Regions from separate parts of the Homo sapiens genome. Here regions 2, 3, 4, 5 and 6 are each linked to region 1. The links are contacts of gene promoters, found by promoter capture Hi-C in human tissues and cell types (Jung and others, 2019). All regions are on one chromosome and are shown on one strand. The core of a region is centred on a gene start or on the middle of the fragment in contact, and the rest is flanking DNA. Distances in the headings are between cores, read along the strand shown.

Evidence for each region. The method cuts DNA at HindIII sites, captures the fragments that hold promoters and counts their contacts. A contact is called where the count stands out against the background at its distance.
Region 2: a contact is called between a fragment that was not itself captured here and the fragment with the promoter of GPC6 in region 1, in 2 of the 25 tissues and cell types used here (aorta and dorsolateral prefrontal cortex).
Region 3: a contact is called between a fragment that was not itself captured here and the fragment with the promoter of GPC6 in region 1, in 1 of the 25 tissues and cell types used here (mesenchymal stem cells).
Region 4: a contact is called between a fragment that was not itself captured here and the fragment with the promoter of GPC6 in region 1, in 2 of the 25 tissues and cell types used here (IMR-90 fibroblasts and mesenchymal stem cells).
Region 5: a contact is called between a fragment that was not itself captured here and the fragment with the promoter of GPC6 in region 1, in 1 of the 25 tissues and cell types used here (mesenchymal stem cells).
Region 6: a fragment that was not itself captured here is called in contact with the fragment with the promoter of GPC6 in region 1 in 2 of the 25 tissues and cell types used here (aorta and heart right ventricle).

Annotation. Positions count from the first base shown.
Region 1 is chr13:93,224,484-93,228,541 of GRCh38, reverse strand. GPC6 (glypican 6) reads right to left here and starts at 1,735. Exons shown (of 9, transcript NM_005708.5): 1 at 926-1,735. The coding sequence starts at 1,085. RefSeq lists a silencer at 1-246 and enhancers at 300-1,142, 3,549-4,058. The HindIII fragment of the contact is 15,285 bases long and covers 1-4,058 here.
Region 2 is chr13:93,613,842-93,617,899 of GRCh38, reverse strand. The region is part of intron 2 of GPC6 (glypican 6); the gene reads right to left. Among named protein-coding and RNA genes, the nearest start is that of GPC6-AS2, 240 kb to the left of the region's middle. RefSeq lists an enhancer at 2,093-2,597. The HindIII fragment of the contact is 3,957 bases long and covers 279-4,058 here.
Region 3 is chr13:93,596,469-93,600,526 of GRCh38, reverse strand. The region is part of intron 2 of GPC6 (glypican 6); the gene reads right to left. Among named protein-coding and RNA genes, the nearest start is that of GPC6-AS2, 260 kb to the left of the region's middle. The HindIII fragment of the contact is 3,659 bases long and covers 390-4,048 here.
Region 4 is chr13:92,902,613-92,906,670 of GRCh38, reverse strand. No RefSeq gene overlaps it. Among named protein-coding and RNA genes, the nearest start is that of LINC00363, 140 kb to the left of the region's middle. The HindIII fragment of the contact is 5,647 bases long and covers 1-4,058 here.
Region 5 is chr13:93,553,768-93,557,825 of GRCh38, reverse strand. The region is part of intron 2 of GPC6 (glypican 6); the gene reads right to left. Among named protein-coding and RNA genes, the nearest start is that of GPC6-AS2, 300 kb to the left of the region's middle. The HindIII fragment of the contact is 9,916 bases long and covers 1-4,058 here.
Region 6 is chr13:92,955,715-92,959,772 of GRCh38, reverse strand. No RefSeq gene overlaps it. Among named protein-coding and RNA genes, the nearest start is that of LINC00363, 88 kb to the left of the region's middle. The HindIII fragment of the contact is 5,357 bases long and covers 1-4,058 here.

The DNA of each region.
Region 1 (4,058 bases), core at 486-2,985:
GCAAGTTGTCGGAGACCAAGTGCTACACACACTGGCGCCGAGAGAAAGGGTGGGCGCTCTCAAGCTCTTGGTGGAGCAATGCCAGTGGCCGGGCATGCGGGGGACACGGGGCCCCCGAACCCGGACCCGAATCCCCAGCTGAGCCACCCGCTAAAGTTGGCTGTTCGCTGGCAGACGAGGCCGGCTCCAGACCGGGTGGCAGGGTGTCCCCGGGCCCTGAGTGGCCAACAGCAACTGGGGAAGCACTGAGGAACCCTAACGGGAAAGCCCGCCCCACATCTGAAACAGGCAGCCCGTGAAGTCCCCAAACCAGCCTTGAAACGCCGGCGTCCAGAGGCCAGGTCCCCGGCGAGGGTCCCTCCCAGCCTTGCCCGCCCCCGGCCCGAGCGCCGGGCGCTCTGTCGCCCGAAGGACGGATAGGGGAGAGAGGGGCTGGGGGAGCCCTCCGCGTCTCTCCACCGCCCCTGCCGGCGCAAGGGCGGGAGTGGAGAAGGCGCCACTCAGACTGTGGCGCTGGGCAAACTGCGGTCGCAGTTCTTCCAAGTTTGCCCGAACCAGAACGCGGAGTGAGCGCCCGGCTCGGCTCTCCGTCTGCGCCTTGCAGCCGCCCCGGAGTGACCCGGGCTCCCTGGCCAGCCGGGCCTGAGCCATCAACTAAGGGGTAGAAGGGCGCGAGAGCAGCGGGAGGCGGGAGCCAGGGTGCTCCCGCGTGTGCACACAATGAGGCGGCGGAGACGCACACCTTCCCCCGCCGAAGAAGCCGCAGGAGCATCCGCCGCCCAACACGGAGACGCGGAGTCCCATAGCGGTGGCAGAAAGTGAGCACCAACTCAGCAACAGGGGGAAGGAAGGGGACGCCGGGCGGCCAGTGGGACGTGCGGCAGCCGAGGGCTGCAGCCTGCCCCTGCAGCGCGCCCGCGCTTACCTGCGATCTCCTGGTAGGGGATGTCCGCCAGGCTGAATCCCTTGGCACCGTACGCCTGGCGGACCTCTCCGCAGCTCCGAGCCTTCACATCCGCCCCGGCGGGGAGGGAGAGCAGCAGCCCCAAGAGGGGAAGAATCACAGCCCCGATCCAAGAAGGCATGGTGCAACATACAAATCCAGCTCGGTAAACCCCACGGCCGGTGCGCTCTTCACCTTGCCCCTCAAGCCGAAAGCCCGCCAGAGGCAGCGGCGCGCTCCTCGCCGCTGCCCAGCGTCACCCCCTTCTGCCAGCCGAGGGGACGAGCAGCGCAGCCCTCTGGACTGCGCTCAGCAAACTTTTATAAGCCAGATGGACGATGGCAAGCCAACAAGGGCTGGCTGGGAAGGCTGCTGCCTTGCTCCTCTAGCCCCCAGATGGAAACGGTGCAATCAAAACGAGGAAGAGAAGGAAAAGAAGTGTTTAAAAAACCACCATGGGGGTTCAGAGCTGCAATCCGAGTTCCGAGCCGCAGAATCCTGGAGCGCTGCGGGCTCGGCTCGCCGGAGTGTGCGGCAAAGGTGGGAGCGCGCGCCGGCTCCCCCGGGAGGGAGATGGACAAGCGAGAGCGAGTGTGTATGCGCGCGTGTGTCTGTTGGTGTGAGCTCGAGGTTCTTGGGGATGTGTGTGCGTGGAGGTATGTGTTGGGGATATACGAGATCTAGGGGAAACCTCAGCTTAACACAGGCTGTGGGAGCCTGTGAGAGTCCTCCTGAAATAGGAAGAGAGAAATCCTGGAGACAGTCACTGGAGGCAAGAGGGAAGGAGAAAGGAGGGGGGAGAAAGAAACGTGCTACACATTGCACAGCCGAAATTCACAGGCCGAGTCAAAGGCAAAACCTGGACTGGATCTCTTCCTAGTCGGTAGAAAGGGGAAAAAAAGAAAAAGAAACGTACCTATTTTCTTATTCACTTCACATCCTTTATACCGATCTGAAATGACATCAATAAACAATCTAGAAAGACAAGGTAATTTTAAGTCATTAACATGTTATTAAGCTGTATTTTTATGGAGGTAAAGGATAACGCAGTTCCAATTGTTGCTCTTAATATGTGTCCCTGACCTACTGAAACACAAAGCCAGAGTGGAAATAGTCATAGACGGGAGTTCATGGGTGGCAGAGCACAATCACGGCTCTAACTAGTTGCCTAATTTCTGTTTGACTTTGTTTTTTTCTAAAGGCACACATTACAGACTGGTAGTTCTTAATTTTTAAAGGTTTGGTTCTAGACTCAACAATTTCCCCTTTTTTTATTTCAAATATCTCATAGCCTTCGATCAGAAATCATTATGCTTAGGTTTCTAATGTGTGGAGGATCGGGAAAGCTAACAACCAGACCACAGAAGCAACAAGAAAAGGAGAGCACAAGGGTCAGAGGTGCATAAAGGGACATAATGGGGGAAGGGAGGTGATTCCTTCCCTCTCACTAGATGCCCTCACATAGTAGACTTAACATTTTCTTCCAAGTTAACATAATTCTCAAGTGGAGAATCAATCCAATTTCTTCTTCCTGTCTCCATTTACACTGATGTTCTGTGAACGGGATAAAAGTGAAAATTCAGGTTTGCCTAATTGACTTTGTTATGCTAATGGACGCACTAAAGTCAGCTGGCAGAAGTGTGTGTTGAAACCCAGAGCTCCTGAAACTACTAAGATAGTTTAATGAAAACCAAGACAAAATAATAATAATAATAGTGTTTATTCACTTACGTGGCTATGTGTCATAGGTCAGCACATTATTCACAAACTACTACAAGGTAATGCACAGTTTTGTGGAGCTCACCTATGAAGCTACACATGAAGATGTTTTCCTGATGATGATATGAATGACCAGAATGACTCATGAAGTTTAAATCTTTGAGTTTGTCATTATCATCACAACATATTAGGTACATTGTCTTCCTCTCTTTAATAAATTCCCCCTCTCCTAACCACCAAAAAGACTCTCAAGATTCAACCTCATTTAACCTTTCCAAACGCTTTAAAAATGAAGTCGACTTATTTACAGAGCCACTTTGTCTTCTTCAAACTCATAGGTCAAGACAAAACAAAACCAAAAAAAAAAAAAACAAAACAAAACAAAAAAAAAAACTCCATAGCTAAATCTTTCTGAAAACGCAACACACTTAACTTTTTTTCTCTTAAAATTTTAGCACAGTTTTTTGCTTTCACAATATTTATGCTAACTGGCAGATCTTAAATCACTGAACTTATTTTCCCTCAAGTCGGAAATCAAGATAAAATATATTCTGGTTATGTTTGTGGACAAACGGTGAGGTTGATAGGCTCAGGAATTGCAGTCAAGTTATTACTTCTGTCATATTTGACAACGTGACTTCCTTCAAACTTCTCTTTGTATCATAGTAAAGCATTATGCACTCCAGAGGAAGAGGGTAAAAACACACACTTCCTGTCCTACCACCTTATCCTGGGACTCATTGTAATTTACCCTGACTCAGTATAGCAGATAATTCATTATTTTAAATGGAGGTAAAGGAAGAATGGGTAAAAGCATAGTATATGTGGTTTTAAATTATTTGAAGATCAGCTAATTGTTAAGTATTGAATGAGCACTCAATACAACTTTATAGCACTAGACTATTGCACACCGTCCCTATACTTATAAAATGATCTTAGGATTTGTGGCAAAGATATTACATGAGACGAATGACTAAATAGATTAGTTTAATTCCATCAGGAGAGTCAAATAGTTTAGGGTAGGTTTGTGAACTCAAGTCAGACCAAAGAATTAGATAACTTGCTTTACTGGTGACCTTAACCCTGCCTGGTCCATTTGTTGAGTAATGTCACACTGTTTGCAGTGGTGTAAGAGACAAAGTCAAACATTCCAGTTAACACTGAGAGCCACAGCAGGAGCCTAGACAAGGGATTGGAATGAGAATGGAATGTTATGGAAGTTCCTGGAAGAGGCCTGACCAGACAGGAGAGAGGTCATATGGAGGAGCAGGCATCTGGTTTAGACAAAAAGGTCAGCTAATGGCTGGAATCCTAGCTGTAGTATTCATCTTGTGTGTAGTAGGAAAAAAGAATATGGATAAATGCCATACAAGAGGAAGCAAACGAGGCCAGGCAC
Region 2 (4,058 bases), core at 1,008-3,507, 390 kb before region 1:
TATATGTAAGGAATAACACACCTGACTTTTGAAAGAATATTACATATTTTTGTTAGAAGTATAAATTATTAAGGCATGTGTTATAACCATTTAGATTCAGAGCAAATAGGTTATAGAGTATTCTCTTATGATTTGTCTTCCTGAAATAATTTCTCTGAAAACAAAATGGCCCATAAGCTTATCATAGAATGTTATTTTCCAACTCCCATAAATACATAGTACCTAGCTACAAAAATATATATTGAAACTTGGGATTCCAGAAGACAGCTTTATTTTCTTATACATAAAATGAGAGAATTAAACCCAGTGATTTTCAAATTGCAGAGCACAGAGTTTCATGTATGTGTGTCCGAGGGGGCTTCTTAACATCCTCAGAAAGCTTCTGAGCTACCATGCAGATGGGTCTGCTCAACCTGCTCTGATCAGAAAAATGTTGCTTTATCTATTTAAGTTATATCTCTCTCTTCATTGCTTTCAACACGTATTTGTTGAGCAGTCATTGTACTAAGAGCTTTTCTAGCTGCCAGAAATAGAGAGATGAATGAGGCAGACAAAGGCTCCATTACAGAGTTTAAAGAGTTAATTCTAGATTTACACAACTAAATAAAGAAACTGGAAAACTCCTGGGCTATATATCTAATATTCCTTCTAATTATAAATTTCCTTTAAGTAACAATTGAATAGCAATTATTTGGCAAATCATTAGCAATGGGGAAGTTGTATCACTAAGATCTTCAACAGGATTTTTTCTCCTCTTTGTCTTCCTATCATCATCCTCAATATTACTCCAGTAACCTCTGTGCTCTTCTGGTGTGGCCTAAATATAACTTTAATTCTGGCATGCCTTTCAAACAGTTCCAGTTCTGAACCTAAGATTATTACAATGTTTTTAAAGGTAATGTAGTTTAAAGGAGGTTAAAACATTCAATCCATCTTAGGAGAAAAAACAAACTGTAAAGTATGAAACCTGACAATGATGTGTTATTTCCTTTTGGTTAAGTGATCACACACTAGAGGATATCATAGGCATTTTAGTAAAGTTAATCATTACTTATAATTCAAAAAAAAGGAGCACGTCAATGGTGTTGAATGTTCATAACTAGCTCTACATACCTCATAAATGTGTTCACAGATTGGTTGTGGGAATTGTTTGTGTTTCTTTAATCTATGGGTATTCATAAAACATTATTTTAAGGCAACACTTGCTACTTCAAGAAATGACTGATATATTATTTAGGATGGTTCTTGCCTGAGCATTTTTTAGTTACATTGTAAGGGACCTTCTAACATTGTGTTATTAACAGGAAGGAGTTTTTCTTACCCTCTGTGTAACCTGTTTCTTTGACTCTTGCAAATCCAGAGAAAGTATTTAATCATCTAATTGGAACCCTAAACAATGAAACTAAGTTGATTTTTCTACCAGATGTGTTTTACCCCGAATGTAAAGTTTTAAGGTGATTGTTTCTGTTGAAAAAACAAACTGGTATCAATGATCTAATCGCACATATTGTAAGAGATGAACAACTTCCCTTTGAATGGTAAAGACTGTGAATTTCATAATTTCTCATCTCCAATAAATTTCCATTAAAGTATTCGTACATCCTCTGTTCCCCAAAATTTCATTATAGTCTTCCTATTTATATTCTGAATTACATAACAATTCAATTTTTTATTTTGAATGTGCTAGTTAGCTGTATTTGTTCTTTAAAAGGAAAAATGAGAATAGAATAGCCTTTCTGAGAGGGATTTTAATACAAATTCTTACCTATTTCCCCAAACAGTGAAAGTAGGACAGACTAAAGAGACAAATTGTTTAGGTAAAGAAAAGCAATTAAAACACATATGTATTCTTAAATACGTACAAGTACATATTTACATTGAGAGAATCCTTCTTCAAATACTTAGGTATACAAATGAAGAAATCAGGATTTCACTGCCTCCCAATTTGTAATTCTTGTTTTAGTTTAGTTACTACTGAGTGAGCAGTATGTGCCAGGCACTACACATTATCCATGTTAGCTCATGTAGTCATTGCAACAGACATATTAAGTATTTTCAGAGAGTTTTAGAATTTTTAGTATCTGAGTTTGGCGATTGGAATTGATAAATGAAAAAGCTTAGAGAGAAAGTGAGGGGACACTGTGGAACCAAGGCCAAGTCTGTACTCACAACACCCCAGTAACATTTACAGCTCATACAACACATCTTGTAAATGGGTAGATTGAGGTCCTTATTCACAAAAAGTTGTTCTAGAAATTTCAAGGAAAATGCCATGTGAATAAATAGTTCAGGTGTTTTCTTTTCCAGGATAACTATGTTGATGCGTGATCTATGTGAAAGCGTTTGTGTGGCTGCTGCCCAAATAGCCCATTAACAACTGAATAGGTAGGACAAAGGAGGAAAAGGCATGATAGATGTGGTTGATACATAAACTGCCTGGCATCAGTTACCTTTTTCACTGAATATCTATTAAAAATGTAATAAGAAAATCATGGCATGAATCCTCTCGACAAAAGGGATAAACAAAAACAAACAGATGTTGCAATTCAGAATTTCTTAATAGGATCAAGTAATTTTATAACAGGAAGAGACACTGACTTTGGACAAAGTTATGTTAATTTTAAAATTCTTTGATAATTCATATAATTGTTATTTGTAAATAAAATGATTCTCAGTAGTTTTGAAAGAAAACCTGGTTAGGGTTAAATTCTAGGAAGTATACCAACCAAATTCCACCACAGGAAACTTTTATTGGTCTACACTGATTTCTTAGAAAGTAAACTTTTGAGAAAAAATTTAAAGAAAACAAAAATTGTACAATATTATTAAACATCTGAATCTTTGTTCTGTTTCAGCTGGAGTCTGCACTTGGAAATGTGTGAGGAATCCAGGACCTTATTCATACCCATGATATCATGATGGCTAATACATTAAATTGTACATAGTAAGTAATGATATAAATAGAAAGCAGATCATCAACCCAAGTATACTCAGAGGAAAAAAAAAGCAATGAGCAAGATAAAAAATAAAACAAATAGGACAAGATTCCTCACTCCATTTAGGAACATATTCTGTCTTTGCTAAATATTTTAACTTTCTAAACAAAACGTGTTATGCTTGAATGGTGTATTTTTCTTTACTTTTCAGTATTTTACTAAGAGATCTTCTATAGCACCCTTTCCTTTTGGGTAAATAAATAAAAGATAAATATCAAACAATTATATAATTTGAAAAAAATATAGGGGGATTGATAATACTATACTGTTTTAGTTACTATTTGGGGACTTTGGCTATAGCTATTTCATATTAACAAAAACCACATCTCACATTGACTGAGCTCATGCTTACTATGTACCAGCCATGGTTTCTTCACTTCATTTAATCGTCACCGCCACCCAAGGAGCTAGTTACTATTACTACACCTGATTTGCAGATGAGAAAACAGAGATACATAGAAGTAAAGTAATTTGCCCTTCCATGTGGTAGAGGAGTCTGCACCTAGACATCTGTAAACCCATGTTCTTAACCATTCAACGACATTGACCATATTAACTTTACCTGAATTCTTTTGGGATACATACATCAAAATGTATACAGATATAACAGAAAGTCTTCTCTGATGGTATAATACTACATTTTATGGCCTAGCGTATTGTCATTTAGTTTAAAAATTTTTTTTGAGGAGTAATACACAGTGATTCACTGTATCTAGAAAAATAACATTTATGTTAACATGGTAGTAGAGAATAGTGAGCTTCTGACATGGTTTCCGATAATTTGCTGTCTAATCAAAACATATTTGAGGAGAAAATAAAGTCTATTCCTCCTTGAACATAAATGTACAGTGAGACTGACAGCTTTACAGCATTTGAGGTTTTTGGCCACAGTAACTGCCAAATCAGATTGATGTGTGACCTAGTCAATTGCCCACCAATTGTTCTAAATTGACTGGAATCCAGGCAATTTCTAAATTTTATGGGCCACCATGAAAAGAAACATCATTTCTGCATCCTACTGTAGACTAAGGAACAAAGCCCACATTTTAGGGAGGACTGGCC
Region 3 (4,058 bases), core at 970-3,469, 370 kb before region 1:
GTAACTTTTTTCTGGAGACGTTTTAGATAGAGTATTTCCCCACTCTTAGAAAGTTTAACATAGAATCCTGCTAAAAATGAGTATGAGCTTCCCAGAGTGTAACTTAAGATGCAGCCAAACACAGTTCCAATTTCTTCTCCACATACAATTCAACAAATGCTTTGACCTGTGGTGAATTTACTGTTCTCTGAAAACCTCAATTGTAATTATATTAGCAACATGCCACTTAGCATTAATTACTTAGCATCTTGTAAATTTCCTCTGCTAGACTGGAATAGAAGGTCCTGTGATCCTTGATGCTTAGTAACTGTATTTTATTTCTTCTTTCTGTTTAGCCCAGACAAGATAAATAACAGTATTTATTCAATTTAGTACTTGATTATTTGTTATAAGTTACATAGTAGATGGAAGGTGGCTGCTACACTATTATAAGAATGAGAAAGCGTAATTTAAAAATTCATTAAAAATGGCTTTTGGTGATTCTCTCAAACAACCTATCCCTGGAAGTTCAATCTTCTAAAGGTAGTGTTAAGGTGGTTTCTTCCTAAAAGATGCTTTTTTTTGGAGGGGAGAACACCTGTAGGTTAACATGGAAGGAGCTACTAGGTAGATGAATTGAATTTGCTATGCAGACATTTGTGAAATACTCTTTCTCTTAAGCCCATCCTCCATTTCTCCTTCCTCTGTTTATACTCCTATGAGGATTATTTTTTAAATGGACAGGAGTGATTAGAAAAAGCTGCTAACTACGCTTATACTTTAAATTAAGCTAACCCTCATTTTGGCATTTTCATTTTTATCAATCAAAGATAAAAAACAGTAACAGTGAAAAAAATAAAACCTTATGAAGACATTCTTTATCTTCACTACATGGGGCTGGGGAGCTATTTCCCTCTCTGCTTCCCCCCTCCTAAGGCCATCTGTGACCCTACAAGCTGCCATTATAACCTACAAATAACTCAGGCAGGACCATGTAATGGCTTCTTCTTGAACTCACTCCTTTTCCACATTTTTTAGACAAATCACAGAAGCCAGATCATAAAGAGTAAGCAGAATGTAGTGACTTCAATTCCAACGGGCCCTGAAAATGCTCTCAAATTTCATGCTTCCCTGATCAGCTTTATTTATAAGAAAACAGATCTCTATAAGCAAATAGTTGGATTTGAGCTGCCAACAAATCTCAGCAACGTTACTTTTGGTCACTTTATAAAGATTCTGATGTCTCTTTTTTTTTTTTTTTACCAATATTTGGCAGTTTCTAAGTAATATCTCAAAATGAAGCTTGAAAAATCAATAAAATATGTATATCTATAAATAGTTCAGGGACCCATTTTTCCAAAGTGCACGTATATTCAGCAAAGATTGCTGGAAGGTATCAAGGAACTTTTCGGTATAATTTCAATAATTGTAAACACAATCAAAACGAAATCACAGTTTAACCTTATATGTTCTCATGATGATTCTTTGCACTCAAAGATTTCTAAAGCTTTCAAGATTTTTGAAAATTTCTAAGTAAGTGTATGAAGAGTAGAACTGTTGCAAATTGAGGTGTCTCAGACACAGTGGTGACCAAAAATTATGGTGACTTCAGAATCTCAATGTTTATTCTTCATTGGTGAGAAAAAGAAATGGGAACCATATCAAAAACAAAATAACAGAAAGCTATTAACATCTACAGTTTTGAGTCATTAAAATATCAGATTAATTTCATCCTATTTGAATTAGCATTTACTTGTATTAAGGAAAATACAAATGGGTGGCTGGCTGCCAGTTCAGTAGTGGCAATATGGGAAAATCATAGAATTTTGCAGTCATGAGACTTAGTTTAGCTCTGCTGCTGAAAGCTTTATGATTTTTTTTAAGTCACATTTGCTTTAAGCCTCACTTTTCTGCATCTCAAAAGTAGGTTTAATAATGCCATATTCAACCACATAAAATTGCTGCTTTTGTGACTCCACAATGGTCAAATATCAGCAATTTCATATAATTCACCCCATACCTCACTGAATGATCAAATGTGACAATGTACGTGAAAATACTCATTAAGTGAAAGGCTAATGGAAACTTAATGTGAAGGCACTCACTTGAAATTAAAGTTGTACTAATTCACCTGAGTCCCATCTCTTAGTTGAATGTAAAGAGGAAGAAGAGTAACAAAGTGAAAGATTTCTAAGGTGGAGATGGTTTGAAAACAGGACACATCCTAAGTATTCATAACAGAGACATCATGATATGCACAGAAACAAGCCTGGACTCGATGTGTTAACATCACCATTAAGTTTTATAATTGACCCTTGAATACTGTGGGGGTTAGAGATGCCAACCACTTACACAGTAAAAAATCCACATATAACTTTTTTATTTATTATTATTATTATTATTTTGAGATGGAGTCTCGCTCTGTTGCCAGGCTGGAGTGCAGTGGCACGATCTCAGCTCACTGCAACCTCTGCCTCCCGGGTTCAAGTGATTCTCCTGCCTCAGCCCCCTGAGTAGCTGGGACTACAGGTGTGCAACACCGCACCAAGATAATATTTGTATTTTTAGTAGAGATGGGGTTTCACCATGTTGGACAGGATGGTCTCGATCTCCTGACCTCCTGGTCCGCCTGCCTCGGCCTCCCAAAGTGCTTGGATTACAGGTGTGAGCCACCGCGCCCAGCCCACATATAACTTTTGACTCCCCAGAAGCATAACTATTAAAACCCTACTGCTGACTAGAAGCCTTACTGATAAGACGAACAATCAACACTTTTTAAAATTATATGTACTATATTTTCACAATACAGTGAGCTAGAGAAAAGAAATGTTATTACACAAATTATAGAAAAAGAAAATATATTACTTATTCATGAAGTGGAAGTGGACAGTCATAAAGGTCTTCACGCTGAGGAGGCTAAGGAGAGGCAAGAAGAGGGGGTTGGTCTTGCGGTCTTACAGGTGGCAGAGGTGGAAGAAAATTGGTGTTTGAGTGAACCTCTGCAGTTCAAACATATGTTGCTCAAGGGTCAACTGTAATTCATAAATGTTTGACTTCTCAAAGGTAGATGGAAGGGGGCCCAGGTTCCAGTCAGACAGCTCCCTCACCTTCTTAGTTCTTTCAGCTATCCTATCTAATAGAGATGTATTATGACATTTACAGTGCTAATGTGTAACTTCACACCACCATAGGGAAAGGCAGCCTTGAGGAGATTTTATCTGTGGCATTCACTAGGGTCTGCTCTGATATCTCTATAATGATGCTCTGTGATGGTTCATGTGATGTGTCAACTTGATTAGGACATAGTGTGCCTATGCCTTTGATCCAACATTATTCTGGATTTGTCTATGAGAGCTTTTCTGGATGAGACAAACATTTGAAGGAATAGATTGAGTACAGGAGATTCCCCTTTCTAATACGGGTTGGCTCCATCTACCAGTGGAAGGCCTAGATAGAACCATAAGAGGGAATTCCTACTGCCTGACTACTTGAGCTGAAACACTAGTCTTTTCTTTTCTTTTTTTTTTTTTTTTTTTTTTTGCCAGATTTGAACTAAAATATAAGTTCTTCTTGGGTCTCAAGGCTGCTAGCTTTTGTTTTGGAACCATACCATCAGCTTTCCTGGGTCTCCAGCCTACCAACTGCAGATCTTGGCACTTCTTAGGCTCCATAATCACACGAGCCAATTCTTCATTATAAATTTTATATATATACAGGCACACGTAATTATATATATTTATACACACATCTATATGTATGTACCTGTGTATGTGTGTATATATACACATATACATATATACACATATATATATGCATATACACTTATATATGTGTATACACACTTATATATACTTATATACACACTTATATAAGTGTATACACACTTATATATGCATATACACACATATACATTATATATATATATATATATATATATTTATTTATTTATTTATTTATTTCACATCCTTTTGGTTCTGTTCCCCTGGAGAAACTTGTCTAATACATTACTTCAAAGTATAAGAATCAACATTACGTTGTCGAGGATCAACATGGTGTTGGCACTGCCCTTCTCCTTAAAT
Region 4 (4,058 bases), core at 696-3,195, 320 kb after region 1:
TTTAACATTTCTTGCTAGATAAATGTGCTGGTGACAAATTCTGTCAATTTTCATTTGAGACCTTTTTTTCTCTTTCATTTTTGAGGAATAATTTTCCTGGATGCAGATTTTTAGGCTAGTTGCTTTTTTTCCTTAAAAACTTTAAATATTTCATTCCACTCTCTTCTAGCTCGCATGGTTTCTGAAGAGACGTCCAGTATAATTCTTATCTTTGTTCGTCTCCCAATAAGATGTATTTTTTCCTCTGGCTTCTCTTAAAATTTTGCTTTGTCTTTGATTTTCTATATTTTGAACATGGTAAACATAGATGTAATTTTTTTGTTTTCCTGTTTGGTGTTTGTGATTCTAGGGTCTGTCATTTGGTATGTGTAATTAATTTTGGAAAATTCTCAATCGTTATTATTATAAATTATTCTTCGCTCCTTTCCCACATTCCCCTCCTTCTGGTATCTCTATGTATGTTCCACCTTTTGTAGTAGTCCTACAGTTTTTTAGATAGCTACTAAGTTTTTTTTTAAATTCTTTTTTCTCTTTATTTTTCAGTGGGAAGTTGCTGTTGACAAATCTTCAAGCTCTCTGATTCTTTCTTTAGTCATGTTCATTCTGCTAATGAACCCTTCAAATACCTTCTTCATTTCTGTTATAGTGTTTTTGATTTCTAGCAATTTTTTTCTTAGTGTTTTTTTTAATCTCTCTGCTTACATTACCCATCTGTTGTTGATTGTTATCCACTTTTTCATTAGAGGCATTAGCGTATTATTCATAGTTATTTTAAATTATCAGTGGCAATTTCAAAGTCTCTTCCATGTCTGCGTATTTTTCTGATCTTTGCTTTTTCTCTTCACACTGTGTTTTTGGCCTTTTAGCATGCCTCACAATTTTTTGTTGTTGTTGAAAGCTGGATATGATGTATAGAATAAGGTACTTAAGTAAATAGGCCTTTGTTTTGAAGTTTTATGTTACCTGGCTAGAAGTATAGGTCTGTTTACTCTTGACTGTGGCTGTACTGTCAGAGACTAAAGTTTCCTCTCGGATCCTTGTTTTTTTATCTCCATTGCTGTCTTTGGCTTTCCCTAGAGATTCCTTCTTAAGTAGTGTCTTATACTTTCAGCTCTTTCAGCTGTAATCCTGTTATTATTCAGTAGCCCTATTGATGTGGTGGTAAGTCATGGAAAGCAGGAAGTGTTTTATAATCCTTTGATTAGGTTTCAATGTTTTAGCGAGGCTGGGTACTTGGGATGTGACCTTCTCAAGTGCTTCTCAGCTCCTACCTTCACTCCCTTGGATGGGGCAGAAAGGCTAGAAGGGGCTGGAGTTGAGCACTTTCGTTCTTTCACTTCAAAGACTAGATGGGACTGGAGCTTAGGTATTTTCTTTCCTGAGGTCAATTTGGGTATGGAAAAACCCAAATGGGTTAAGCTCTGGTAAAATAGTTTTCCTTAAGGAAAGGCCTTTTTTAAGTGTAAGACAAAGCTTTGGGCATATGACACAATGGTTACTTTTTACCTCCCCCTAACTAAAGTATTAGGGGACTTTTCTCTTTACAGTGAGAGCCTGCTGGGGTTCTCATGGAACCTCATGGAAATATGGGTACTCCCCTGAGACTGGGTCCCCAGAAATGTTTCTCTCTCAAGCCAGTCCATGTTCAGTTGCCAGCCATTAGTCAATTGAAATTATTCTTCCCAGTTGCTCCTCCAGCAAGGCTTCTACTCCAAGTAAAATATGATTCTCTATATTTGCCCATCTCTCCAAATTTGGGTCAGAGGTTTGCTCTGTGACCTGAATATTCTGATGGATCTAAAAATTGTTGGGTTTTGGTTCATTCCACTTGAAAAAAAAATTATGAGGATGGGAGTGAGGACTTCGAAGCTCTTTGCATGTCTGGCCAGAAGCTGGTATATTCTATTAATTTTTGTAAACATTATCTTTAAAAAAAGGTAGTAGTCTGGCATATGTGTTTATTTCTAGTTCTTTTGTTTCCCAGTTATTTTATGCTTTTGTTTACACAAATAATTCCTTTTAAATAATGATTTGACAGTAGGTGTCCATAAGTGATAGGAATTTAAACATTGCCTTTTTAATGTCAAGGGATGTCCCTTCTAAATTAAATACAGATTAGGTTCATTTAATTGAATGTACTTAAAATTTTTTTCTTTGATATTTTACATGCATGTAGGCCTACATATAAAAGATTCCTGCTTCAGATACTAACTGAATCTTTTTCCTATCAAGTAACTTTCAGATATTTCTACATAGGTAAATATCTAATAAAACTGGGAAGGAAAAAGAATCCCATGAGAAAAAAAATTCTTATGAATAACTTCTCTCAATGAACATCTTTATCAATTATATTGTTTCATTTATGACGCAATTTCTCTCTTTTATGGAAACTAATATTTGTAGTGTTTTGGCAAATAGAATTTCCTCTGAAATGATTGGTGTTGATGCTCTGGAAAAATCAGATTTTCTTTTAATTAGGACTTCTTTGTAAATTAATAGTAAAGTAGTATGACCTCTTTAAAAATCTAGACACCAAAGTCTTATCTATTGAACCACTTTTTTTTTTCCATACAACAATGCATATTTCCAAACTGCTAAAGTAATTGTATTAGAGCACAGTGGAAAATCTAAGTTATAAATGAGGTACATGGAGCCAACATCATCATCACTCTTTAGGGATGAAAGCACATATGGAAACACTTCATGGATTCATTAAATACCAATCTGAAATAACATGACATCAATATTGGTAGCTTGAAAATGGTAACATCTGACAGATGGCAACCAATTAGAGCAATTAGCAATTAACTTGTGTGTCTGTGTCCCACCTTCATCCTCCTTCACTTGCTTCATGAATTTCTACCATCCTGGATATGTTCCGGAGATTCAGTCTCTACTACAGACCATTGGGATAATACATTTTGGTCAATTATTGAAAATGAATTTAGAGAGAAAGAGCATGTCACTCTTCATCACGGATTCAAAATATGACTATTCTTTTTAGGTAAAATGTAATTTAAAATAAACCCATAGACCATTGTTTTATAGGGCAAAAAGGAATGCTAAGAAAAATTAAGCCACAACATTTTTTTGAAACATTTATGTATTGACATATAAATAGGCTTTTACTATACTGGTGGCCCTCTAATATAGTTCAATTCAAAAAACACTTTGAAAAATATTTTTCCTAAAAGTCTAAATATATAATCATGCACATTACAGCCAAAAAAAGCCTCAAAGAACAAACAACTAAGAAATAAAAACAAATATAAAACTCTTGTGATGTTTACCTTGTTATTAAATAAACTAAGAAATAAAAACAAATATAAAACTCTTGTGATGTTTACCTTGTTATTAAATAATTACATAAAATAATTATTCTTTGTATATATTCACATATTTGATTCACTTGCCATGTGTCTAATACCAGGCCAATGGTATTTTTCTGCAGAATATATTTTATAAAGTAATCTTTAATTAAAAATCTTTTTAAAAGTTGTATTTTATGTGTCATAAAACTCATTTGAGAAATATTTTCAAGATAAAACTTATCAAATAAAATGCCTCAAATTATTATTTGTATTCACCAGTTTTAGATGTTGCAAAGATGGGGAATCTCTCATTTGAATTTGTGTAATAAATATACATTTATATAATTCTGAATAAGATTTCTAATAAAAGATTATTCCCACAAGATAATATATTAAAAACGTAGACTTTAGGGAAGACTCCTTTTGTTTAATAATTAGATTAAGTATTTCCAACTGATTTTGGACAAAATGAGAACAAAATTTAAAGGACTCATTCACACAAGAAACTCAACACAATTATAGGACACTAAGCTTGATTTATAAAGTATTTCTTCAAAAGTTCAAACTTTCTAAAATTCTATTGAATACAGGCAGATAAAAGAGAAAGAATCTATTACCATGCTGAAATATGTTTTAAGTTCAATGTCAACTCCATCTCAAAAATTGTAGTTCAGCTAGTCTGTGTGTGTGTGTTTATGCATGTAAATTTTTACAACAACACTTCTATTCCAATTTGAAGAGTATTAG
Region 5 (4,058 bases), core at 627-3,126, 330 kb before region 1:
TGGCTAGTAATTTAAAAATATATAAAACTTATATTAGTTAAAACTGGCCCCCAAACTTCTTCAGTTTCAGAATACGTTTTGGAGTTCTATGCGCCAGACAGAAGCTAAGTCGTGGAACTAACAGAAGGTTTTCACTGATTGCTAATCTGCTATTTGTAGGGGGACTTGGAACCCTCAAGGGCTGAAGATATTCTTAGAAGCTACTTCTCTTAGTAAAAGGTTTTCAGCCACTGCCCAGAGAATGAGAACAAGCCTGGCTGGTCTAATGATCAAGGGAACAAAGTCAGTAAACCTTGGACTAGTGGTCAAGAAGAACATTTTAAACAGTTCTTATTGTATGTTTTTATCTTCCTTAAATCTCTACTTTGCTTAAATCATTACTTAATGGAAGAATTTACGTAAGTACTTCCTTAACCTATTTTTTTTAACATCAATCATAATATATTACACAGATCTTCAGATTTATATTGCTGTAGGCTTCTACTTGTACTCTAAATAGAGACAACCAACTCAATTATGGAAAAAGCAGTCCGAAGTTGTACTGACAAAATATCATAAAGTATGTGTGGAGGGAATATTATACCCAGAAAATAGGAAATTCCCTCATGCTCACAGAGACTGTATTCTACTTTTCATTTTATAATTATAAACTATTTAACACAGGAATTAAGACTTCCAATTTATTTTATTTTTTCAGAAGTTATTTGAATAAAGTTTCATGACACCAAATATTAATAATTTTACATTACATCCTTATCCCAGATTCCTTAGAGATCAGGCACTTTTCCTTCAATTAGGCATAAAGTCATTTTAATCCTTTAACACATTAAAGTTAAATTATACAAGTTTTCTACAATAACCATACCTTATGTTTGAATCAAAGTGTGCTATGAAAAAATATAGTTACACAATGGAGTACTATTCAGCCACAAAAAGAATGAGATCCAGTCATTTGCAATAATATGGATGGAACTGAAGATCATTATGTTCAGTGAAATAAGCCAGGCGCAGAAAGACAAACATCATATGTTCTCATTCATTTGTAGGATCTAAAAATAAATACAATTGAACTCATGGACACAGTAGAAGGGTGGTTACCAGAGGTTGGGAAGGGGAGTGACGGGCAGCGAGTGAGTGGTGGAGAGGTGGGGCTGGCTAACAGGTTAAAAAAAAAATTATTATAGAAAGAATAAATAAAACCTATTATTTGATAGCACAACAGAGTGACTATAGTCAACTGTAACTTAACTGTATATTTTAAAATAACTTACAGTGTAACTGGACTGCCTGTAACTCAAAGAATAAATGCTTGAGGGGATGGATACTCCATTCTCCATGATGTGCTTATTTCACACTGCATGCCTGTATCAAAACATCTCATGTACCCCCAAAATATATATATATATATATATATATACATATACATACATACACACACACACACACACACACTATTTACCCACAAAAATTAAAAATAAAAAAATAAAATAAGATACTGCGCTTCAAAACATATCATCCTAGCAAAAAAAAGTAACCCAAAAATTAAAAAGTATTTTACCAATTGTGAAAAATAAACACACATTAGGTCCTTATGAACTAGAAAATAAATGGAAAAAGGATAATAATTGTGTAGTTCATAAACTTAAAAATGCAAAAATCCACAGTATACATCTGCAAAAGTTAAAATGAGTTGTTGATCTTGGGTATAATTGTATAATTCACTGTCAAAATTGAAAAGAAAAAGGGGTAACTTAGTTAACATATAAAAGTCATTATTTGACGGGCAACAGGTTCTTGAATGCCACCTTAGATATGGAGGCCTGTTACTGGCTGACCTTAATATGTCAGAAGAAAGATTCAAAAACTTCTGTCAAATTTCTTTGCCCCAGCTCTACATCCTGCTAACTAACCTCTCAATTCCACGTAAGCCAGTGTTAAGTGTGGTGGAGCAGAGAACACTCGCTTCAGAACAGGAGATCCTTTCTGAGTTCAGTCCAGACCAAAGAATGGTCATCTCTGGTGTTGAACCCAGCAATCTGTATATTAACTGATTCTCCAGGAAATTCATGGACATCTTAAACATTTCTTATTCACGCCTGTGTGTGTGACTGTGCATATGTGCATACTTGCAATGGAGAAAAACACGTTTATCCTGTTTTTTATGATAAGAACCTCTACTTGCTTTACTCTAAGTAAAGGCACTCTTTGTCCGGGGAATTTAAAATTAGTTCCATTAAATCCACTGGAACCAATGCTGCTGATATCACATATGAATTCCAGGTTTATGGACCCTAAGAGTTAATGGATAATGAGAATTCAAGGTTCCCTATTTTCTTCTGTCATAATTATTATAGGAATATAAGTAATTCATTTAACTGGTCTGTGCCCTTGAGACTGCACAGGTTGCTACCATTGTCACACAACACTGCAGCATTATTAAATATACTTCATATTAAGTCAGGTATAGGAAGATAAAATAGAAAGAGGAGACCTAATCTCTGAACTTAATGAGCTTAGACTTCAACAGGGAATATGCAATGGATCATAGTTTTTAGAAGAATACTATTACAAGAACATTAAATAAGTGAAAATGATAAAATGTCAACTCTAGAAGCATTAAGGAGAAAGAGACAGGAAGACTGAGAGAACTAAATCCTGTAATGACCACAGAACTATTCTTTCAAAAGGAGAAAACATGCAAATAAATTTTAAAAAATAAAACAAAATACGTGGAGAAATCCAATTTCTTCCAACATTCAAAGGCCTTGGAGCCCCGATTTCCTGCTATCTTACTTCAAAGTTTGCTTTTCATGTTCAAGTCGTTTATATTCTACTGGACTGCTAGGAAGGGAGGAAACAGTGTGAAGACTGTAAACTACTATATATAGTTTTCCCAAGAATATTTGTTCGTTTAATGAATATAGCAAACCTTTTGCAAGAATAACAAATGGCACATTCTGAAACTGTGATGAGTGATTTTTAAAAATTTATCTGAGCACTGTGGACCATGCACAGTTATTCTTAGCTGGGCACTGGTTCTTCCTTCACATTTGGGTTCAGGATCCTGTTCTTGTCTAAGGGAATGCTTGGAATGACAGAAAACGGCTTAGGCCAGCTACCTCTTTTTTTACATTTGCTAAAATGCCAAACCCCAGGAGCTCATGTCAATGTTGGTCATTCAGTGAAAAATCACCGAGTGACTACTGAATGATATGGAAATGTTATTTGTAATGCATTTGATAATAAACACTTTACACTGTCATTTGAATCTTGCCAAAGTTCGGGTTTGGATATTTTCCTTATTTTGATGTCCATATGGCTTACAAACAAAAGTTTAACAAATTCAATCACACTTACCAAGGAGATTTAAAGATTAAGCCTCATTTTAACAGGCCTGTTCATGTGGATAGATTAGAGATGTCATTTCCAGCGCAATAATAATAGAATATTGGATGGGAGCATAAGCTAAGTAGCCTGGAATTGAGTCAAAATCCTATAGGTTGTGTTCAGGTTTGCAATTTGAAAATGACGTGCTCTGTATAATTTACTGTTGAATATACAAAAATTGAGAGCAGTAACAACCGCTGACATTGTTCCGTATGTACAATGGATTCACAGTCTGGATATCTTCAGTCCTGTGTATGTTCAAGTCAGCTCTCTCTCTCTCTTTTTTTTTTTTTGACAGAGTCTCACTCTGTTGCCCAGGCTGGAGTGCTGTGGCACAATCTTGGCCCACTGCAACCTCCATCTTCTGGGTTCAAGCGATTCTTGTGCCTCAGCCTCCTGAGTAGCTGGGATTACAGGCCTGCACCACTACACCCGGCTAATTTTTGTATTTTTTTTTTTTTTTTTTAGTAGAGACGGAGTTTTACCATGTTGTCCAGGCTGGTCTCAAACTCCTGACCTCAGGTGATCCACCTCAGCATCCCAAAGTGTGGGATTACAGGCACGAGGCACTGTGCTGGCCAACTCTCTTTCTCTCTCTCTTTTAATCTCTTTATTATGGAAATTCAGAAACTATACACAACCCAGAATAGTCTATGAACTCCCTAAAGACT
Region 6 (4,058 bases), core at 667-3,166, 270 kb after region 1:
CTTACATGGGGCCTGTAGCCCCTTCATTTTGGCAAATTTCTCCCATTTGGAATGGGTATATTTACCCAATGCCTGTATCCCCATTGTATCTAAGAAGTAACTAATTTGCTTTAGAATTTACACTCTCATAAGCAGAACAGACTTGTCTCAGATGAGACTTTGGATTGTGGACTTTTGAGTTAATGCTGAAATGAGTTAACTCTTTTGGGGGACTATTGAGAAGACACAGTTGGTTTTGAAATGTGAGGACATGATATTTGGGAGGGGCCAGAGGTGGTATGATTTGGTTTGGCTGTGTCGCTGTCCAAATCTCACCTTGAATTGTAATAATCCCTACATGTTATGGAGGAACCTGATGGGAGGTAACTGAATTATGTTGGTGGGTTTTTCCCATGCTGCTCTCGTGATAGTGAATAAATCTCATGAGATCTGATGGTTTTATAAAGGGGAGTTCCCCTGCACATGCCCTCTTTCCTGCCACCATGTAAGACATGACTTGCTCTTCCTTTGCCTTCTCCCATGACTGTGAGGCCTCCCCAGCCATGCTGAACTGTGAGTCCATTAAACCTCTTTCCTTTATGTATTACCCAGTTTTAGGTATGTCTTTATTAGCACTGTGAGAACAGACTAATATAATAAGATTACAAGGTCAGATTGAACATTCAGTACTATTTACTATTCAGAGATTATAAGCATAAATTCATAGGTCAGCTGAGCATTTTTGCTGATCTGGGCCAGGTTTGGCAGATTTTAAATTAACTCTTTTAGGCATTTGTGCTCAGCAGCACGCAGAGAGGATAGACAGCTTTGCTGTTTATTGACTAGGTATTTTCACATGTCTATGGCCTTCACTGGCAAAATTAGATGAGGCTAGACTAATTAGATGAGAGAAAGAAATAAATAACATCCAAATTGAAAAGGAAGAAGTCAAATTAGCCCATTTGCAGGCAACATGATCTTATACCTAGAAAGACCTAAATTCTCCACCAAAAAGCTGTTAGAACTGAAAAACAAATTCAGTAAAGTTGCATGATGCAAAATTATCATACAGAAATCATTACCATTTGTATACGCCAACAGCAAGCAATCTGAAAAAGAAATAAAGAAAGCAAACCCATTTATAATAACTACAAAAAATGTAAAATATCTGGGAACCAATCTTACCTAAGAAGAGAAAGATCTATACAAGGTAAACTATAAAACTCTGATGAAGGAAATAGAAAAGGACACCAAAAAAAAATGGAAAGATATTCTATGCTTATGGATTGGAAAAATTATTATTGTTAGAATGACAATATTACTCAAAGCAATTTACAGATTCAATGCAATCCCTATCAGAATGCCACTGACATTCTTCATGGAAATAGGAAAAAAATTCTAAGATTTATATGAAACTGTTAGGGGTGGAAGGTACCTGAGTTACTGGCAGTGAATCCAGTAACTCAGGTCTGCAGCAACCTCAATTCTTCCCTCCTCAGAAGAAACAATTTGACTGAGGGGCATAAGGCAGAAAAAGAGACTAAGGGAAGTTTTACAGCAGGTGTGGAAGTTCATTTAAAAGCTTTAGAGCAGGAAAGAAAGGAAAGTACACTTGGAAGAGACCCAAGTGGGCACTGTGAAGATCAAGTGTGGCATTTAACCTTGATCTTAGGACTTTATATGCTGGCCCACTTTTGGTGTCTTGTGCCTCTTTCCCATGATTCTTCCCTTAGGGTGGGCTGCCCGCATGTGCAGTGTCCTCCTTACACTTGGGAAGTGAGCATGAGCAGTGTGTTTAGGAAGTTGTATGCATGCCCATCTGAGGCTTTCTTCCCTTTTCAGGTGGAATGCTCCCAAAAAGATCATACTCCCCCATTTTGTCTCTTAATGCTCATGCCCAGGCTCACTTCCCAATACTTGAGATTTTATTACCGATTTCAAGTGTTTTTATTTATTTGGGAAGTTGATTCTCCCTGGTCCCTGCATTCAATGAACACTTTAATGTGACAGCTGTGGGCCACCAGGAGATTGTCTCTCCCTGGTGCTAGCAGCCAAATTATCATTTTTAGAGAGGCAATGTGATAACTGCCAAACCATACTGATGATCGCCTGACTTTCCTGGTGGGTGGGGAAAGAGCTCTCTCCTGTTCTGCTTATGCCTGTCTAACTACCTGTAACGAAATCACAAAAGACCCTGAATAGCCAAAGTAATCTTGAGCAAAAAAAACCCCAAAGCTGGAGGCATCACACTACCTCATTCCAAAATGTACTACAAAGCTGTAGTAAGCCAAACAGCAAAGTGCTGGCATAAAAACACACACATAGACCAACGGAACGAAATAGAGAACCCACATATAAATCCATGCATTTACCAACGACTCACCTTTGACAAAGATCAAAACGTACAATGGCTGAAGGACAATTTTGTTGATGAGTGGTACTTGGAAAATTGGATAACCATATGCAGAAGAATGAAACTAGACCCCAAGTTCTCACCATACAGAAAAATCAAATCAAAATGGACTAGAGGCTTGGATCTAAGACCTGAAAATATAAAACTCATAGAAGAAAACTCTGGGGAAATGCTCCAGGACATGATGTAGATTGTGCAAGGTTTTTTGAGGCTTAGAATAGGGATGTGCATAACTTCATTTCCTCTGCATTTTGTAGGCTTAAGGCTAGTTTGGATTTATTGGGTGGAGAAATAGAATAAGCTTGCTGATGGGAGCTGGTGCAAAGTCACATTGAAAAGGAGAATGGGTAGAATGAAGACAGTAATTGTGGCCACTATTACAATCTACTATAGTCATTGATCAAATTGAGTTTGATTTCTAGTGGGAGGAGATTGATGAGTCTGCAGACATGAAAGCAAGGAAACAGGCAAATAAATAAAGAGGCAAAGTAATATAGGCTGTAATAAGTGAAATAAAAAAATAAAGCTTTGGGCAAACGGCATTCTAGGCAGAGGGAACGCACATATGCAAGTTTTCAGTTGGAATGTACTTGCAGGTTTGAATACAAAAAGTTAGTGCATCTGGAGTGTGGTGATCCAAGGAAGGGAATGGTAGGTGAGATGTGATCATACAGGGCCTTGAAAGACAAAATACCACAGAGTTGTTATTGGATTCTAAGCATTAGAGGTTTTTCATCAGGGAGGATATCTCTTCTAAGTTAAACCCTACTTTGAGGTTTCAACATTGTAGATATCCTTAAATAAACTTTATAATTAAAAATATTTCCTAAGTATTCTTCTTTATGCCACTTGCATTTTTCCCTATCAATAGCAATTTGGGCTGCTGGGAATGTTCTCAGCAGGCCCTTTTTCTGCTCCCAGTTCAGTGGCCTCATGTTACCTCAGTGAACCCAAATGAGCCATAGGGCCAACATAGAAGAGACAAGACCTGGACTCCAGAGTAAAGGGAGGAGAGCTAACTGCAGTGGTTCATGACTATAATCCCAGCACCCCAGCATTTTGGGAGGCTGAAGCAGGAGGTTCGCTGGAGCCCAGGAGTTCAAGACCAGCCTGGCTAGCATAACGAGACCCTGTCTCTACAAAACATTAAAAAATTGGTCAGGCATGTTGGTGCACGACGGTAGTGTCAAGCTACTGGGGAGGCTGAGGTATGGGGATCGCTTGAGACCTGGAGGTGGAAGCTGCAGTGAGCTGTGATTGCACCACTGCACTCCAGCCTGAGTGACAGACCAAGACTCTGTCACACACACACACACGCACGCACACATGCACGTGCCTACACACATGCACACGCCCCAGAAAACAAATGCAGACAGAGTAAAAGGAGAAGGTTTTATAACTGGCACAAATAGAGTTTTGTTCTTTTACCATATTTTTCTCTGTGGTAAATAACTAAGAAGGATAAGAATGAGTGAGTACATTTATTGTGAGAAAAATTTGTGATGACATTTCTATGTATAAGATCAGTGGGAGCTACAAAGGTTATTAGGTTTTCACTTGATGTTTTTACACACTAGAAATCCAGAGAATAAGATTCTTCCGGGTAGAATATTATTAAATTGTAGTGTGGACATTCCGTTCTCTCTCTCAATGGCTGCTTTGAGAA